Linked DNA regions of Homo sapiens: region 2 is linked to region 1. Evidence: promoter capture Hi-C in 16 types of primary human blood cells and fetal thymus (Javierre and others, 2016). All regions are on one chromosome and are shown on one strand. Each heading gives the region's core, a stretch centred on a gene start or on the middle of the fragment in contact. The rest is flanking DNA. Distances are from core to core; before and after follow the strand shown. Region 1 holds the start of IFNK (interferon kappa). Region 2 has its middle 290 kb from the start of C9orf72.

Region 1 (7,291 bases), core at 2,396-4,895:
GTTGCAGGCGGCCCTGTTTCCCTGCACAAGTCAGATGCTTACACATTGTGTTCATTCTTAGTGTGGATTATTGATTAAAGAACTGGGGCAAAAGCAAAGTAGCTACTCTGAGAAGTCAGGGTCCCCAGATGGTGCCCAGCGAGTTGTCTTGCCTCTGAGGGGAGGCTGACTGAGACTGTGCACCTGTTAGAACCTATGCTACCCCATAGCCTTGCAGTTGACTTGCTGTTGCCAGCTTTTCCTGTGGGATCCCCAATGAGTCCCTCTTCCAAGGAAGCTCAATTACACTTTTGATTCCTCCTCAACCCAGGGGAAGAAAGAGGCTTCTGTAGGAACATTATGATCTATGTACCCACTCAGACATTGTCAGTGGATACCAGAAGCTTGGCTCTGCACAGCTCTGAGAGTTTTCCCTTTGCGAACTCAACAGAACTTTTGAGTTTCCATTTAACATAAAAGAAGTGAGACTGCTAAGCCAGGAATGCGACACATAGAGCACTTTCTCTAGTGATTTCTGGGTATTATATCTCTTTACCTTCCCAACGGTGGAACCAGGAAAAGAAAAAAAAGCAACATCTTTGAAGTACTGCAAGGCACTTTACAAACATTTCATTATGAAAATGATCCCCAAGGAAGGATTCCTTTGAAATTTAGCAGCAGCAACCCAGAAGCAACAAAAAAGACCAAAGTTACTCAAGAAGTACCCAAAGGCATCATTAACAAAATAAAAGAGCATTTCTTGTCTTGGCCTACCCCGCTAAGGAAAACAGGGTAATTATAGTGGAAGTTAAGCTTGTACAGTTTCTTTTAGAATTAAAAATCTTCCCAAAAAAATCACTATAGGAAAAAATAGAAAATATCGAATGGTGAAAATGAATGTAAAAGGGGGAGATATCATAAACCTATTTCCTTGGAATAAATTTCGGAAGACGTGATACCTAGGTCACAGGGGCTGATGCGTTCTTTAGGATATTGAAGATTGCCATATTTCCCTGTAGAAAACATGTCCCAGTTTACTTTCCTCCCAGTAATGCACAAAGGCTCCTATACCTTACACTCCACTCACATTTTATATTGTCATTCTTTTTCTTTTCTGTCATACTGATGGGAGTATCTTGTCATCTTATTTTGCATTTAAAAATCAAGTTAGATTAAACATTTTTCACATTGTCTGTAGTATTTCTTCCTTTGTGATGATGTCAGTTTGTGCCCTTGCCTTTTTTCCAGTGGAGATGTTATCCTTTTTCTTTTGATTAGATGTGATCTTTAAAAAAGCATACTGTTCTGACTTCTACCCCTGCCACACATTCAGAAAATGTATATTAACTGAAAGCTCAGCTCGGCTTTCTCAGCCATTCTCTTTCCTCCAGGATAGCAAACACTTGGCAGGACTGCAACCATAAATGACTAAAGTAATTGACCTCATTCCAGTAAAGTTATTAGAGAGAACAGGCAAAGACTTTATTAGAGAAAGTCATGAAAAATAGCAAGTATATATTTTATGCTCAGTAGCTTGCATGTCCTAACTCCTTTACAAGCTTGTAGTACTATTTTTAATCTGGAACAACTCTGCTGATAGTTATTTTTACTAAATGGTTTGCACTAACTCATTTTATTGTCTGATCCTTCTGCTGATAGCCTGCATATACCATGATCCACAATTTGTTCTTGTTCTTTTAAACATCTCTTCTAACTTCTTGGCTGAAATTTGCCTCACTTTTATCATAAGACTTTCTTTGGCTATAACATTTGGGCCCTGCGCTTGGAATAATCTTGAATCTGAACAGTTTGGCAGCATGCTGTTAGTGGCATGAGCAGGAAATGGCTTCCAAGGGCAGAACCAGGTACATTTCAGATATATTTCACCCTTTTTTGGTGCATTTGCGTAGCCACAATCTCTGTTAATTCTTGCTTGAAGGTAGATGATTCTGAAATGGGGTAGATAGAGGTGCGAGAGGAAGAGAAAATCCATGTCAGCTAGGTGGTGAATTAATATAGATGAAGGGCCGTGCTAGAAAAGTAAATAATCTAGGTAGTCTGGCTGCAAAGTAACTTTTAAAAAGATAAAAGATATTAAAGTATTATGTATTATTGGAATAGCTAGTTAAATTAACTCACAGAATGTAGTCTTCTAACTAGGAAAATCTAATGTAAAATTGTTCCATATTATGACTCTGGACATTTTATTTCAGGCACATGAAAAACAGTAAAAGACAGATTCTGTACCATACTTTTCCACAGCATTTTCCATGCCTTTAGATGTAGGAATCAAACAATATACATCAGGAATGAAGAGTGTGCTACATTAGAATCACAGACTCTCAAAGGTTAAATGAAAGCTTAATGGTCGTCTAATTCAACCATCCATCCAATTTCACTATGGATCTTCACTCTTAAAGTAATGAAATACTATTCCACAAGCATCAATTCAAACAAACCAAGCTGAGAAGGAAATGGGCCAGAAATGTCAACCTTTTTCCCCCCGAGCAGGAGGGGGAAAATGCAAGAGTATTGACTCTAGGGAGCATGTATAAGCTCTTTTAATGTGCTGAATTTTCATAGGATAAGCAACCTTGGCAGCAAAACAGTTAAGTCATTGAAATGTTACCATTTTGCAACATTCTCTGCTCCCTATCCTCTAGCCATTGTCTTGGTGAAGTCCACAGGTGGTATATATAGCAAAGCTCTTTCAAAATGGCCACAGAAAAGAGCAAGAGAGAATAGAAGAAGACGGAGAGGGAATCTTATTCCTTTAAAAATGTCTTAAAGACTTTCTAAGGAGACTCTTGGTCACCCTGAGGATGGTTGGCATTACCTCTCCTTAGAGAGGTGAGTGTCCCTGATGTTCCGAGGCTACCAGTCCAACTGAGGACAGGCTTACAGGACAGCACAACAATCCTTAAAAAGAAGTTGGAGGAGGAGAAGGAGAAAGAGATTTCGGAGGGAAAAGGAATTTTAATTCCAAAAATATACCTTATTTCCTCCTGAATAGAGCTGTAAATTTGTAAAAGTAATACAAACATCTTCTGATTTCCACTCGGACAATCTCCCAGGCACAGTCACTGTATTTCTTTTCTTTCAGGAAATTGTCTATCCTGTGGAAATATCTCCTCAGTTCCAGGCTGCTCAGCTGGGGGACCCTGGCTTCTGAGGGTTTCATCTCATTCTCTTTCATTTCTTTCATGTCTTCATTTTCATTCTTGTCTTCCTCCAAGCATTGGTTCAGGTACTCTGCTTGCTGATCAAGTCCTATTTGGATTTGTTTGAGGTGTCTCTCTTTCCAATATTTGAAGGTGTGTTGGCTGAAGATGTTGAAGGCCTGTAGGGACATTTCATAGAAGGCCTTCTTGATGTCCCTCTTCATAGGTTGGGTGTATTGCAGAAACTCTTGGGGCAACTCAAAAGCTATGTTTTCTCGTAGACATTCTACAGGAAATGAATTGCTCATACTACTCAGATGTCTCAGATTTTGCCAGGTGACTCTTCTCAGGTGAACGTTCAGTAAGTTACAGTCCAGGGATAGGGTGCCAGCAATGAATATACCCATAAGGATCTCAAGCCACAAACACTTTTGAATCATATCAGGTTTGGTGCTCATTTTTTTTGCAAGCTAAAAAATCCAGAAGATGTGTATATGACAATGATGTTTTGAGTTTTCCTTCATGTGCCTTTATATACCTGAATATCTTCAGCAGGAGGAGTTTTCTCATTCGTCATTTCACAGTTAACCAAGGTTGCGGCCCCTTTCCTTTGCCTCTGAGGCTTTTTTTTTTTTTTTTTTTTTACTTCGGGTGACTATGCCGACTTTGGAAGTGATAACTTTTTTTTTTCCCTGAAAAATGAGCAAAGAATTACCATCGTGTTACCTTAAATGCCTGGATGATCCATCCCAGCACTAAGGAATCATCATAACAAGACTGATGCAGGGTATTTCAGAAAGCCAAAAGCTGTGAGTCCATGCACTCACTCACTCACTCACTCACCCAAATCTATTACATAAGAGGGAGTGATCCTTCATGAAAATATATTTTTTGTACCTGGTGCTATAGCCAAACATCCTGTCTCATTGAGTTAATCATAGACATTGACCAAATGACTGTGATTATTTGATTGCTAGGTCACCAGAGCACAGTATAGTTTAGGTTTTTCCAATTTTGTTAAATTAAGCTTCTATATTTGGATATTTTCTCTTTTTGATTTTTCTGGATCTCCAAAAAGATGAAGAATAGAGCTGGCACTTACTAAGTAGGAGACTAAGTTGGCTTGGTTTTCTGTTGCATTAGAAAATGTTGATAATCTCTAAATATCCTTTTCTTCAGTTAAATCCATCCTGGACTTAGCCTTCCATATGCCTCTGATACCTTTCTTAAAAGTCCTGGAGGGGGTTTTATATTTGAGAATATCTTTCTGCCTCATTAACTTCTCTCTTGTAGTATCATTTTCTTTTCTTTTCTTTTCTTTTTTTTTTTTGGTGCAGTTTAGGCAGTATTTTTAAACTTTTGCTTGATTGCTTGATTATTATATCTTCTTGCCTGGTGGTTCTGGATTCTGTAAAGGCTTTTGTTTGCTCCTGTGTTTGTTGTGCACTGAGGAGGTATGTGAGTAGGAAGTCACCCATTTAGCTAAGTGAATTCCTAGCTGGACCAATGTTACTGTGGTAATGATGGCTATCTATTGTTTATGGTTTTTACTTTGTTTGACCAAATAACCTTCCTCTGATTATGGTTAAAGCAAATGGATTCTTTTCTCCAGGAAAATAAAATGGATTGTCATTTTAAAAAGGTAGCTTATTATATCTTCTCAAGAAAAAAAAGATATACATTAATTTGCAATTAAGTCATTGTAAAATGGTAAATAGCCACAGTTCCACAAACATGGCAGACTTTGATTGAAAAGTTGGCTTAAAAAGTTCTTGTCTAAATCAGTTGACTGCACCAAAGGCTAATTGTGGGTAAGTGGGATTTCTTAAAATCCTGGCTTTTAGGAAAGGTTTCTTACGGAAAAAAATATATATATATATATTATTCTATTTGTTCCATCTACATAAATTCTTATTTCATGGGCAGATTTCTTGGGCTGACCAAATTTGGAAAACATTAAGAAAACAAGCCCTTTTATATAGCGTTATAAATTGACACAACCTTCCTAGAGAGGAAAGTGGTGATATGGATCAAAAGCCTTAAAAATGTACATAATATTTGACTCAGCGATTGATCCTCTAGGAACTGATTCCCCAGAAATAATGATGATGCCCTTAAAGACTTAGCTGTAAGGAAGTTTGTCACAGCAAAAAATGGAAAACAATTTTAATGTTCAGCAATAAATACTTAGTTAAGTAAGCCATCAGTAGAAAACATATATGTAAGCACTAAAAATTATGTGTGGGAATATATTTGGTCACTTGGATAGATACACTTTGTAGTTTAAAAAACAAGCTTATATTTGCATATAGAGGCTGATACCACTTTTGTTAAATATAGACATATGCATATATATATATATATATATATATATGAAAAAATGTCTTGATATATATGCAAAAATTTTGAGTCACTATCTCTAACTGGAAGAATAATGGGTGGTTTTTATTTTTATATTTTTATTTACCTGGATTTTTTAAGTTTTCTGTGGTGAGCAAGTATTTCTTTTTCTTTCTTTCTTTCTTTTCTTTTTTTTTTTTTTTTTTTTTTTTGTGAGACGGGGTCTTGCTCTGTCTCCAGGCTGGAGTGCAGTGGCGCGATCTCGGCTCACTGCAACCTCCGCCTCCCGGGTTCAAGCGATTCTCCTGCCTCAGCCTCACAAGTAGCTGGGATTACAGGCACGCGTCACCATGTCTCGTTAATTTTTTTGTATTTTAGTAGAGACAGGGTTTCACCATGTTGGCGACGACGGTCTCGATCTCCTGACCTCATGATCCGACCGCCTCGGCCTCCCAAAGTGCTGGGATTACAGGCGTGAGCCACTGTACCTGGCCAAGTATTTCTTATTTAATAAGAGAAGGCTGTTTTTAAAAGAAGATACATTAAAAAAGGAAAAATTATTATACATCTGAAATGGGATCAATACTATTTTATTTGTTTAAACATTTCTACTCTAGAGTATTTTGAAAGAAAATGTGGATTCTCCCTAAGGCTCAGTTCCAATCAGTTGATATGAATAACACACAGTATGTGGGAATATACTATTCTTGCAGCCATGTTTATACATGTATATATACTTATAATTACACACACACACACACACACATTCTATAAAGTGCAAAGCCTCTCTGAGGGCCATGGCTTTTTACATACCTCATATAACTTCTCTACCTAAAACTTCTTGAACTGTTCCAATTAGAACTGCTTGTTCCCCATTTTGCTTTTACGATGCCTTGGCCTCCTTAACCATGGGTTTTAAAAAACAGATAATTGTATAAGTGTTGGTCTCCCAATTTAGTGCATTCCCCTCTTCCCTGAAATTGCCCGTGGTGCTTAGTATACTTTTCACTAGTTTGAGACAGTTCAATGATACTAACCAAGCTAAAAGATTGTTCAGTTCTGCTCATAGGTGTTGGAGATGGCTGCACATTTGGCTATTGTCATTCGTCTTGAAGTTGCCTGTATTTTCAGCCATGCACAGTTTTGTCATCTTTAGCCCTCTCACCCCAAATTTCCTCCCTTTACTATAATTCCATATTATATTCTCATTTATCTAAAAATGTACTTTTGTGTTTATGACATTTCCGTCACTGGCCTAGGTCCTGAAGAAGGAGGAATAAGTTGTAGTGCATGATCTCGAGGAGGCTGTGGTTGAAGAAGCAGGCATGTTCTGAGTGTTTTAGGCAGGAGGAGTAATTCTTAGGGTTCCCCAAGAGCAAGGACTCCATTCCCCATGTTCTGTAAACGTTAATAGATGCTGATATTGACAATATTCATGACAAAGAAGGAAAGATGGTTGGCATACACATCTGTCCTTCTCCCACCATTAGGATTGCCTGTCTTAGCAGATAAAAATATAGAACACTCATGCAATATTTGGGACATACCTACTAAAAAGTCATTCATTGTTTTTCTGAAATTCAGATTTAACTGGGTGTCTTTATTTTATCTGACAACCCTATCCACCATGCAAGCTCCCACTGACCTCTCACAGCAGAGCTCAGACGTGACATCCCCTGCAGAGAGCCATTCCTCTGCTACTCTTCCTCCTCCTGCAGAGTTACATTTGATTGCATTTCTCTATGCTGGCTTTACATGTGCACATACCCGTAACAAGTGTACATGGCAAAGAGGTCACCTGTCATACTAAA
Region 2 (7,291 bases), core at 1,518-4,017, 340 kb before region 1:
TTCTTCATTACCCACATACTTCTGAGGCCAGATGCCGTAGGACACTTTATGTCAATAAAACCTTTGTCCTAGGCCAGGCACAGTGGCTCATGCCTGTAATTGCAGATCACGTGAGCCCAGGAGTTCAAGACCAGCCTGGGCAACATGCTGACACCCCATCTCTACAAAAATACAAAAAAAATTAGCCAGGCAGGGTGACACATGCCTGTAGTCCCAGCTAATCAGAGACTGAGGCGGGAGGATCACCTGAACCCAGGGAGGTCGAGGACGCATGAGTCATGATTGCACCACTGCACTCTAGCCTGGGTGACAGAGTCAGATTACATCTCAAAAAAAATACAGAAGCAAAAGCAAAAAATACAAATAAAAACCTTTATCCCCTATACCTTTTTATGACAGTGAGTGATAGGAATATTTCTGGAATCCATAGCAAAATCTTGTGACTTTGGAACCACACAAATGTATCCCACCAAATCCTAATTTAATGGATCCTCAAATCACCTTCCCAAAATTCCCCATCACACTCTAAGTTCACCAAACATAAGGAGAATTATTTCAAAGGAAAAATTGGAAAGGAAAGAGACTTCAGACTTAACTGTGTTAAAATAGCTTATCCTTATAAATTTTACAAAAGCATATGACTGCACAGACACACTGGTAGGGGCCTTCCTAGGACCTTGGTAGGAGCCTGTGCAGGTGAGGGGCCCTGAAGCTGAAGCGTCATTAGCTTCAGGGTAAATCCACTTCTGTGTGTGCGTTATATAATTGGCACGGACTGAGGAGGAGCCCAAAGGTGTCAGCTGGAGAATGCATAACATACCTAAGGAAATTGCCAATTTCCCAGGTCAGAGGCCTCCAAAGGCCATGAAGAGCATTTGAATGTCTGCTACAACAAAAGGTGTTAACCATCAAGAAAACAAACACCACCAGCCAACTGAAAAGGCACTTCTCCTCTCTGTTGCTCCTTTACCCATATTTCCTTCAAAATCTGAAGTAACAGGCATAGTGAAAAGGAGAAGGGAGTGCGGGAGACGGGAGAAAAATTAAAACAACTTGTAGAGCAGAGATTAGGGTGAAGCGAGTGAGGCATCTGGGGAGCAAAATTTAAGGGGGCGGGGGACTCATCCTAGTACCGGCTCAGAGACCATGCCACTCCCCACTCCTCCTTCTGTAGCCAGGTCAGGTTTTGGCTGTGGTGAAGGGAAGATGTCCTTAGTTGAATGAGAATTTGGAATTTTGACCCATAGCACGTTGGTCTTTCTAAAGAGTTTTATTTATACTGAAAGTGACAAAAAGCTATGAAATTTTCTCAGCTTATGGAGCAATTTAGAGGACATATTTGGAATGAAACCACTCCTGATTGTACCCTAAAGAGCACCTCCTTTTCAATCACTATATTTAAAGAAGGAAACAGTGGCATTTGTTATATATACAGGATGAAGGCCCAACTCCTTAGCTTGGTACACAAGAGCTGCCACTGTCTTACCCTCCACCATCATCTCTGCTGAAGCCACAGTTGTCACCATTATAAGGCAACTCAGCAGGCCAGGCTATCGCTCTCTCTGATGCTTCCTCTGCTTAGAGTCTTCCCTTCCTCTACTATCTCCTTTAAAGGCCAACTCCTTGGGGAACCTACTTCATAACCTCAAATTAGTAGTTCAATCCTCTGAGCCTCATTGTATTCTTTTTGGCCCTTCTGAGGGCACTTAAGATATTGCAGTATATTTTGGTTCTAGTTCTGACTTCCCACCAGGCTGTAATATCTTTCTAGATAAACAGCATGACCTAATCAGTTTTATTACAGCGTTTTGAATGCAGATCGTGGCACATATGGTTTGTTTCAATAACATTAGTTATGTGAATGAATGTCCTCCTTTTCTTTTCCCATATAGAAGAACTTCACAATAAGAGTGCTGCCTATAACAGGAGGCTCCCTTTGTTTAGTGAATGTGTTAACCAACTTACTATTACTTCTTTATGGATGCCTGAGTCATCTATCCCCAAGGATGTCTTGAAGGTAAAATCTGAAACAAACTCCCTTATTTGTGATTATTAAATTAGTAAGTCATTTCAGTTTAGAAATTTTCTCAATTAGGCACAGATAACAACCAATCCTCGCAGGCAAAATGCTACATACTTAAATATCTTTATTAAAAATTCTGGTGATTTCATGAGGGAAAAAATGCCCTTAGATCCAAAGATTTTGGGCTTCCAACAATTAATAACTAAACTATTAGATAAACACAACTTTCCCCAGGTAAATGTCTCTGAATATGTTCTTCCTCTCCTTCCTTCTGAAATGCAGCCAACTGCTCTGAAGTACTAGGTCTCCATTTTAACTGACTAACAACTCAATTTTGTTTCAATCAAAGTATCACAATTGGGCAAATTCAGAGAGCACACTCTAAAATTTGCTTGAGGTGGAGTTGTAAATTCTTAGAGATAACTCAACTTGCTGTACTGGTTCCATTAATTCCATCCCTCAACGTCTCCTTTCTCTCTTTAATACCAGAAATGTGAGCTCATACTGAATGTCAGAAAACCTCTGCCTTAAGTTTCTGCATGAATTTATCTATAAACCAGGTAGACTTGTTGTTCCTTATATAAATTTGTCTTAAAAACAGGGAAGTGTTCATGGGACACCCATATTGTATTTAATAATAGCATATCAGATCAGAATAGAATTATACTACTTCTTTTTCAGAGTTACAGAATCAGATCTGGGGAGTCATAACAGCCTGCCAGAACCTTGATTTTGAGCAGTGTCAGTTGTCAGTATTACAAAACACAAATTACACAGCAATTAAATGTGGTAAGGCTTCAATCAGAGTCTTTCATGAATATAACAGGGATAAAAATCTCCACATACAGTCATTCTCTGAAGCATTGAAAACTTATCTAAATACCCCCTTTCCCTTTTGATAGCATTTTATGTATACCTTTATTTGAAACACTTATCATATGATACTATAACAAATCTTTTTGTTCTGCTACCCTCTCTTGACTGTGACCTACTTAAGGTTAAAAACTATATCTGACTTTGTGTCCCCAACACTCAACATTAGTGCTAGACATAATAAGTACTCAATGAATCTGTTGAATTCATGATAAAAGAATAAATGAATGTGATGAGTATCAAAGTAAATATCTGTCTAGGCAATTCTTGAAGTCTGCTTTTCCCTAATCTTCACCGTTAAGCACGTGATTCGATACCTGCAAGTTTCCTTAAGGTCTTTGGCATTTCTCAACGTTCCAGCTTAAAGTGCCCCAGTTAGAGTGATTCATTATGCTTTGCAACTAAAGTGGGAAATCAGGAAGAGCTATACCAGGATTCACTGGGATTGGGTGCACTACATCTGGTGTTCCCTAAGATAAAAGTGGGCACTTAATGGGACTAATTCATGCTCATGTCAATGACTCAGGACTAATTATCTTCTAAGGTCATTGTAGCAGGGAAGTATGCTATCAGGAGGAACGAATCAATGTGTCATAGAAAGGGTGGGATCTGAAAGAGAGAAATCAGGTGAGGTCCACCTTAAGAAATAAGAGATAAGAACAAAAATTCAAGAGGACTTCAAGGGATCCAGGTCTACAAAAAACTGCAAGTCTAAGGGTCATGGCAATTCTGTAAGATTTCTTAAACCTCTACAACTTGCTGATATGTGTAATTTTTGTGAGTTTATGTCTTACTGCAATGGCAAGGAAGTCAGTCACCAAAAGGAAAAACAAAACTCTGCGGACAAAAGAGCGCTCAGGAGGCCTCACCTCATCATCCAGGCCCTCCTGCTGCTCTGTTTAGCCAGGACCTATCCCTCAGTCAGCCTGCTTTTGCTCCCCCTGGGGGTGGGCTCCTGCCCTCCTGCTTTTATCCAGCTCTGTGGACCAAAGCACCTCCATCTTGTCTTTTCCTTTCTTCATCCCTTGATCCACTGAACAGCAGACTGGTTCCTACGCAGTGCTTTCATATACATGCACTCTATCTTAGATCTCTTTCTGTGTGGGGAGAGAGTTACAAACCACTCCTTTTACCTCGTGACTGAGGTGCATATATAATTTATCATCCAAATTTGAGAGTGAAAGGGGATGCTGTTCTTAATCATACCAGGATAATAGGAATAAACTACACCTCTGCTAGGCAAACCCAGAAGAATTTGTAAGATTAAAACAGAATTTAAGCAAAGGCTGACGGATTGAAGGGACATGCAATCAAGAGAAAAACAAGATATTAAAGTGAAAGAAATCCTCATTTTCTTTTCCTCCTAAGATCTGTGATATCGTAGTATAACTAATCTCACCTAAGAAACCATTTCCTTTTGGGTCCCCATATATATGGCAATATTAGCATTAAAATAGCTACAGCAACATTATTCATAACAATAAGTTCTTCTTCCATTAGGGATAGTTCCTAGAGGAGTCCCTTCCCCAGACAACTTCTCCCATCGTTCTCTAACAGAGCTCTGGGGAAAGGGACCATGCTGGTCTCCCTTCCATTTAGTTATCTCTAACAGCCTCCTTAAGGTGTCTTCTCAGCCCATGGCCCAGGCACTTCTCTGATAACAGGTCCTGCTGTGCCAGGCTTCCCTTTACATTCACTTCTGCAAGTAGCCTTGCTTAGACTAAAACTTAGGACTATGTAAACCAAATTGTGGTTTACCCATTTGCTGTTAAATATAAACCCACTATTCAAGAACTAGTCAGAGCTTGCTGTAAAAAATAACATTAAGTCCGAACTAGAGAACGGCTTCTTATATATATTTTGAATGTTTATATCCTATTTTGTTAGCCTGAGGCATTTACTCTTTTTCAAAGTACAGTTTACATGTTCCCACTTCTGAAAAATGTTTGACGCAGCTCACACTAAAATATGAACATATATTCACAAGATAACTTAAACTTCAGAAATATCACGAAGTACAGGGAGTAAAAGAATTCCACCTGAATTTTTAAAAACAAACAATAAAATAATAAAATAAAATTTAAGAAGTAGAAATTCAGGAATAATGCAAAAAAGAATATCATAATGTCAACAAAAAGAATTTACTCTTTAGTTTCTAGTTACTGAGAAGCAATAGGAAACTCTGTCTGTGATTAATTGTTATTAAAGTCACATTTGAAAGAAACATGAAACACTCCTTTAATTTACTTCATTCCCCCAAGTACAAAAATTGTGCTCTCTCCTAATCTTTCACTCCTCTTAATTTGGGTCATGGTATTGTACAGCACAGGAGAGAGGTGATTTTCCAGGACACTCAGATAAAGCAATAGAAGATCATATTTTGGAAAATAAGAGACCAGTCACTCTGAAATCTGTCTTACAGTCACTGTCTCAAGAGTAGGGTAATTATTAGGAACACTGAAATGGATCCTTGGAGAGGTAGTGCCTTGAGAGGCAGGAAATGAGAGGGCACAGGAAACATGAAATGTGTGCCTTTCAGCCGATACATTAGCAAATCTCTGGCCACAAAGGTTCATCTGCTGCCAAGCCGGAGAGAGCAATGGGGGGAGAAATGGCAGCCCCGATTACTGATTGACAGGAGTTTCCAGAGGAAAGCAGTAGAATTATTTAAAGGCATCTCAAGTGGGATTTGATTGCACATCGTCATGAAGTGCCAGGATAAATGATTCACATTTCCTGGCAGCCACAGCAGTGGCAGAGCTGACCAGTAATCTGTTGTCTCAGAGGTTTTAACATTTCTGAGTTCAAATCAGCACAGCCTTGTAAGTCTGAAGTCCTACATCTGATGAGTCCTATAATTAAAGACCCACATGAACTTTGAGCAGCCACTTCAGACCTGCTTGCATTTTGTGCTCAATTTACTTTTTCACTTGAGGTGAAAAATCTAATTATACGAACAACAAATAGTGTTATTTTTCCCCCTTGGAGAAAGCCGTGTGTTAAGTGTCACCAATTATTTAGCTAATCATAACTCTATGCATGGCACTGCTAATCCCTTAACAGCATCATCTATTCTGGGTCAGCAGTTCACGCTCCCTTAGCTGCTAATGAATTTCTTTTTTTGGATTCATCAGATATGATCTCAGCAGCACATCAAGGAGTTACTTTAGCATTAAAATGGTCAGCTGGATAGACTATATTCTGTGCCAGGTAGAAGAAAGCAAGCTGCAAATTAGCATCAAATCCAGTAGGCTCATTCATATAAAAATTTAGCAAATATTTATTGAGGGCCTACTAGGTACCCCTTGCCAGCACTTACTAATTATGTAACATAAGAAAAATGCTTGATCTCATAAAGTTTATTTTCTCTTAAGTGTAAAACAGACGTGAGTACTTAATGCACATGAGTGTCTTGTTCAGATAAAAAAATACACTATTCGATTGCAACTACTACAGTGTATTTAGAGCAGTTTTAAAATGTATTTAGGGCCTACTCTATAGAGTGCCTTCTCTGCTAAACACTATACTAGGCATTCTAAACATATTAGCACAATACTTAGTTTATGGTAGTTACTCAACAATGTTCATTTATTTCTTCCTCTTCCTTCAAGCTCTCTGAACAAATCACTCACTAGACATTGGCACTGTTTTCTCCAATTTTTCAGAAAAGCTTATGCAGCTATGCTTCTTTGAGACAAAAAGCCAATTCACTATTAGCATGGGAGGTAAAAAGCCTATTAGGAAGATATAAATACGTTATAGCGCTTGTATACCAAAGAAGTTGAATGACTTCAAAATAATATTTCTAACTCCTTCCTTTGCAGTCTATTTATGAAATAAGCAGGCAATAGTGGTTTCCATTATGAAGCTTGAAATCCACCAACTTAAAAAAAGAAAAGAAGAAATGAGAAAAATATCTAAGCCATCTTTCACTTCATTTCCTTGCAATTTCTTGTTTTTGTTTTTGTTTTTGTTTTTTACCAAGAATGTCTTCAGGGTTAACATTTCCCAGCAGGCAAACTCTCTTTTCACACAATCAGGTTATTTTAAAGATTTTCCCCTTAAGTTCTTCTTGTTTCCCTATCTTTGTCTACATGTCACAGGCTGACAAGGGACAACACAGAAAGAAATATTCCATTGGAACACGGCTTGGCAAACCACAGCCCATGAGCCAAATCCAGCTTTTACCTGTTTTGTATGGTCCGTGAGCTAAGAATTTTATCAATTTTTAAATGGTCAAAAATAAAGATATAAAATATTCTTCTCCTTTTGACTTTATAAATATTCTATGAGAGAAGAATATTAGATAAAAATCAAATGTAAATATCCATAAATAGATTTTTATCAGAAAACATCCATGCTTATTTATTTTCATATCCTGTGCCCGTTTTTGCC

The links. The method cuts DNA at HindIII sites, captures the fragments that hold promoters and counts their contacts. A CHiCAGO score of 5 or more calls a contact.
Region 2: a contact is called between a fragment that was not itself captured here and the fragment with the promoter of IFNK in region 1, in 1 of 17 cell types (neutrophils). The highest score is 6.8, in neutrophils.

The regions. Positions count from the first base shown.
Region 1 is chr9:27,520,644-27,527,934 of GRCh38, reverse strand. It overlaps IFNK (interferon kappa), which reads right to left and starts at 3,645. Exons shown (of 2, transcript NM_020124.3): 1 at 2,974-3,645; 2 at 1,437-1,928. The coding sequence starts at 3,598. The coding sequence ends at 2,975. All of the region lies in intron 1 of MOB3B (MOB kinase activator 3B), which reads left to right. The HindIII fragment of the contact is 1,828 bases long and covers 2,342-4,169 here.
Region 2 is chr9:27,863,496-27,870,786 of GRCh38, reverse strand. No RefSeq gene overlaps it. Among named protein-coding and RNA genes, the nearest start is that of C9orf72, 290 kb to the right of the region's middle. The HindIII fragment of the contact is 7,603 bases long and covers 1-6,568 here.